2 separate regions of the Homo sapiens genome follow, and region 1 is linked to region 2. Evidence: promoter capture Hi-C in human tissues and cell types (Jung and others, 2019). All regions are on one chromosome and are shown on one strand. Each heading gives the region's core, a stretch centred on a gene start or on the middle of the fragment in contact. The rest is flanking DNA. Distances are from core to core; before and after follow the strand shown. Region 1 has its middle 26 kb from the start of PARAL1. Region 2 holds the start of SNAP25 (synaptosome associated protein 25).

Region 1 (2,700 bases), core at 146-2,645, 260 kb after region 2:
GATTTTTATATGGAAAGTTTCAAAGAACTAGACAGAATTGGATGGGATACCGAGTTCCACCACTGAGTAGCTACCGTGCGCCATGAGTAAATTACTTAACCCCTTTGGGCATTTCATTCTTTGCATGTAAGATGAGATCTAGAAGTTTTCAGTGAAATAATGCATTACATGAATCCACACTAGGCATATTGTCAAGTCAGTTCCTTTTCTCTGAGCCAATGCAGGCTTGGCTTGGCCTTGATGGCAATACCTGCTACTCCCTTTGGCCAGGGCCTGCCTTTATGTTGCAAGGTGATGGCTGTAGGGGGTGCATGGATGATCCCCTGTCCCACCACACTCATGAGGATTCTAGCCCTGAATATGCTGCCAACTGTCTTCACTACCCAGGAACTTAGGCTAAAGTAAGGCTATGGTCCATTTTTTCAATGCCATACTCAAACACTTAATTAAAAAAATTGTTTTAGATGTATGTGTTATTTAAGAGCTTGTAGTTGCTCTTATCCTCCAACCATATGTAAAGTAGCACAATCACCACAGCTTATCACTAGGAGAGGCTGGAAATAATATCTTGGGAAGAAATTCAATTCCCTTTGCTTTCTCCGCCCATTCCAGAGCAGATGCATGTTTGCTTGATATAATGAATTTGGTGACAAACAAACTGGTAGATGTTATCTCATGTAATTTTGGGATATTGTTTCGTTAGTGGGTCAAACAAGGATTCACTGTTTCCCATTTTCTCACCCATATCTTTGCCCAAATTTATTTATTTTTCCTCCTATTTACTCTTTTGCTGGAAATATTTTGACATTTCAACTTCCTAATAGAGATATGTGATTGAAAACAATCATTTTCTGTCCCTCTGTAAACCTTATTCATGTAACAGTAAACCAATTGTTTTTTATTATACTTTAAGTTCTGGGGTACATGTGCAGAACGTGGAGGTTTGTTACGTAGTTATACATGTGCCATGGTGGTTTGCTGCACCCATCAACCCATCACCTACATTAGGTATTTCTCCTAATGTGCTTCCTCCCCTAGCCCCCAACCCCCGACAGGTCCCCATGTGTGATGTTCCCCTCCCTGTGTCCATGTGTTCTGATTGTTCAATTCCCACTTATGAGTGAGAACATGTGGTGTTTGGTTTTCTGTTCTTGTGTTAGTTTGCTGAGAATGATGAGTAAACCAATTTAAAAAAAAAAAGGAGTAAGACCTACTAGTACAAGGGACAGGAGAGGCAGCTACAACATAAAATATTGGAAGCTAGAAAATGGGTGAATCAGAAGAACCTGACTTAGCAAACCAAAGAAGGTCAAGTGATAAGCCTCAAGTGGGGACTGAGGAGAAGCAGTCCAATTAGCAGCCACTGACCTCCAGCAGGCTCAGAAGTTGGCAGTACTGGGTATCCCTGGAAGTGGGGAAGAAGGTGGCGCCATAACAGGGGATTGATTGGAAGTCTCTTGAGTTCAATTGCAAGATCCTACAGTCCATTCTTTGTGGCCAGGCAATCATCTTTCTTCATTCTGGTAAAATACCGGAAGTTTAGTAGTGGGAGAGGGTAACTGAAAAGTCTCTGGGCTGGAGGGTTGGAGGTACAGTGAAAACAGGAAGGTCCAGGCCTGCATCTGACGTTTTCAGAGCCCAAAGCAAGAGTATTCATGGGAGCTGTGGCCCTGGCCTCCCTTCCTTGCCTTCACACCCTGATTTCTTTCTTGACTGTCAGGGCCTTGAATGAGCACCTGTGGACACCCAGCCCTCCTGTGCAAGCTCTATCAGACTCCTGCAAATGGACACTCTTGTATATCTCTTGGTTTCAGGGGTGCATACACTGGTTGGTAAAATTGTTCATCCTCAGAGGGACAGACTGAGGGAACAGGCCCACATAGTCCCTGGAAGCAAGCTTGAGGCCACTTGGCAGAATTCTGAAACACAGTCTACAAACGGGGGATGGTGCCCTTGGCTATGGGAAAAGGTATCAACAAAGAAGGGCCAGAGAAAGGTCCTTTTAAGAATGTTGTCCAGGCTAAAGTGACTGTCTTGGTTTGCCTGGAACCATACTGGTTTTAGCACTAAAAGTCTCACATCCCAGCAGACTCCTCAGTCCAGGGCAAACCATGATGTTTGGTTATCCTTCCAGCTTAGTGGTGGTCCTGTATTTGCATACTTAACTCTGAGATCTCCAGCCTTCTTTTCCCATTTATTTCCCAGAGTGCTGGCAGCAAGGCCTATATCATCCAGGTACAAAATTAAAAGTTTTTCTCTGGGGAATTTGAGCAGCCCAAGGAGAAAGAGCTAAGAACTCTGACTTTAAAGATTATCTCAGAAACCTCCCTTAGACACCTCCATGGTAAAGCCCAGAGTTAACAAAGCCCATCCACTGGTTCAGAGCATCTAATGAGCTTTCAGGGCCCTAGGTTTAAACATAAGCAGATTGTTGAGGATCACTAGACACTTAGGAAATTCTTTATCATAAAAGATTAAGACCAAAATAAATAGACCAAAAAAAAAAATCTATTTGGAGAAAACATATTATGCAATGAGAAGAAATTTTAAAACACCTACATTAATATGCTCAAATCATAAAAGAAAATATTGTATTTATGAACAATAGAAGAAGATATTAAAAGAAAACTTCAAATCATTTTTTTTAAATGTTAGAAATTAAAATGTGAGAACAAACTTAAAAACTCCATGGAAGTATCA
Region 2 (2,700 bases), core at 157-2,656:
GAAGAAGGAAAAGGAAGAGTGATTCATTCTTAAAGTTGATTCTGCTTAGTTCAGCTAATCTCACATTTTTATCAAATGGAAACATAGAGAGAGATGTATCATCCCTATAAACAGATAGCATTGGCTTCTTCATATATACAGTACTTATGCTCACCCAAGATCTGTAGACAGATCTACTCTGTGTTAAAAAACAAAACCAAACAAAAACCTTGATACCCTGCTGGAGGATAAATCCATATTTTTTAAAAAATGTATTTATTTTCTACGTAAAATAAGGGTCAGAGGGCAACACAGAAGATTTCCACAAGTAGACTATTTTGTTGAAGCTATGCAGGAGGTGAGGAGGGGAACAGGAAATTGTCTGCAAAGGAGTCTCTGTGAGGAAGATTTATTTCTTTCTTGTTTTCTTTTAAGCTACTATGACTCCTCTATTAAGGGTCTCCGTAAGACCGGGGTCTCAGGGAGACAATTTGGTCTCCAGCCCTGGCACATCCAGCCCCGGCCAGGCATTTCTGCCGCAGGCAGATGAGGCGCTGCGGCCGGACCGCTGTCCCCGGTGCTGAAAGGTCGAGGGCGCCCGCGCGAGCCCTCGGTGTTGCTATCCAGGGTGCTGAGCGCGGGCCGCCGCAGTCCCCGAAGCCAGCCCACCCGCGCCAGCCCTCCGCAGAGCCCTCCCACCCGGCACGACCCGCCCGCCTCCCGCCAGCCTGCAGTTGACGTGGAGCAGGCGGCATAAATCAAGTCCGCGGGGCATGGAGGCTGCTGTCGCTGCAGCAGCTCAGCTTGCCCGGGGCGGGAACTCCCCCTTTCTCCTTTCGCCTCCCCAGCACCCACACCCTGTCTCCCCCTTAATTCTTCCCTGGATAATAGCACCCTAACGACAACAGTCATAATAATAGGGTTAGAACGACAGGGGAGGAAAACTCAACAGCCTAAATATCTCTGAAAACTGCATCGCAAAATGGAAGAAAGAGGGGGTCCCACTACTGTTTCAAAAGAGTAAGTTATTATTCGGTACGTACCCTCGCTCTTCCTCCCCGTCGCTCCATTTGCAGGGCTCCCGTTTCCCTTTTCCCCAGCAGCTCACCTCGAAAACACTTTATAAAGCCCCCACCAGACGTGCACACACGGAATACCGCACCCTAAGTGCACCAATACTTGTATTTACCCAAGCCCACTCGGACTGCCCAGCTGCTGTCCCTTCTGGGTATGCAGCCATCCCGAGCCAGAGCCACGACCTGGGGAGGGGGGTTCTTACCTGGGCTTCTCGGGAGGGTTGTGTTCTCCGGGCCTCTGCAGGTTGCAACTGTGGTGGAGCCGCCGAGCAGGGAGGGAAGGAAAGACAGCGCCTGACCTCCCCGAGGTTTCGTCTTCAATGCAACGTGAGCTCTGCCCTCATCAAAGATGGCCGTCCGTTTTGACGTCAGCAGCTTTTAATAGCCGCCCAGCGAGGGGCGGGAGGAAGTGGGGGCGGGGCACGGCGGGGGCGGGGGCGGGGCCCGGGCTGCGGCGCGCTTGACTCGGTTCCCAGTGCGCTGGCCTGCAAACCTGCGTGTTTTCACCTTCTATAAACACCCGCACGGGGCGACTCTTATGACTCCATTTTAACACTCGGTCTTGGGCAAACGCGTTCATCCCGCAACTGCATTCCTGATGTTCTTTGGTGTGTGTGCGTGTGTGTGTACATATGTGTATATGTGTGTGTATGTATATATGTATGTGTGTGTATATTTTATAATACATGTATAATATATGTATAATTTGTGTGTATGTGTATATATTCCCCCCCACCCCCACCCCCACCCCCTTTCAGTGGAATCTGTGGTTGAGTCATCTAAGGAGAGGGGAAGGCAGAGGAGGGGTAAAAGGTAGTGATGGGAGGGGTGGGGGAAATTTCAGCGGCGATTTGTTTTCTCCGAAGAGGGTCCGTAGGGGCATCCCCGTCCACCCTCGCCAGCTCCATATATGGCCAGGCTACGTGGGTTGCTATTTTTATGAGTGATTGCTTCATGTTATCGAAGCAGCGTCGAGGGCTTGTGGCTCTCGTTGCTGTGGTCAGCCGGGCAGCGAGGCTGGCGCACGTTATTTTGAACTACGTCAGAGCCAGGCTCTCTGAGCTGTTGCAGGAGTCGGGGGAAGGAGAAGGGAAGCGGAGTTAGCCCAGCCAGCGTGGGTTTGCAAGGACTCGAGGCTTGAAGTTGAGTTGTTTGCCGAGGGCAAAAACGGATGACTCTGCTTTCGGTGGAATTTGCAGTCGGTGCTGGGGTTTCATGCTGGGTGTCTTAGGGGTACCCCACGGAGGCACAGACGCCCCGAGGGAACCGTCCAAACGGCCGGGAGGAGGTGGGGGATTCAGAGCAAGGACGGCTGGGACACGGCCGAATCTGGGGGTTCACTCAGTGCGCAAACCCCGGGGTACCCGTGCAGGCTGCCTCGGGGGGCCCTCGGATGCTCAAATCAGGGCGGGGAGACAAAGGCTACTTGTGCTGGTCGTATTAGAGATTAAAAGTGATAATTATAAAGCAACAACCCTAACTGTCCTCCCTGGCCGTGCCCGGGCCCGGGAAGGGGGTGGTGCGCGGATCGCTCGGCGGTGGCAGCCTCCCGGATGATTCACAGGTGTTGGGGAGGCTGTCGCGGGGCTCTCCGCAGGGAGGGAGGGCTGGGGAGCGCGTGGGAGGTGGGGGACCTCGTCTGAGG

What was found. Contacts are between HindIII fragments. The study calls those that stand out against the background at their distance.
Region 1: a fragment that was not itself captured here is called in contact with the fragment with the promoter of SNAP25 in region 2 in 1 of the 25 tissues and cell types used here (stomach).

The regions. Positions count from the first base shown.
Region 1 is chr20:9,959,066-9,961,765 of GRCh38, reverse strand. No RefSeq gene overlaps it. Among named protein-coding and RNA genes, the nearest start is that of PARAL1, 26 kb to the left of the region's middle. The HindIII fragment of the contact is 7,805 bases long and covers 1-2,700 here.
Region 2 is chr20:10,217,536-10,220,235 of GRCh38, reverse strand. It overlaps SNAP25 (synaptosome associated protein 25), which reads right to left and starts at 1,406. Exons shown (of 8, transcript NM_130811.4): 1 at 1,259-1,406. SNAP25-AS1 (SNAP25 antisense RNA 1) reads left to right here and starts at 730. Exons shown (of 5, transcript NR_040710.1): 1 at 730-999. The HindIII fragment of the contact is 5,357 bases long and covers 1-2,700 here.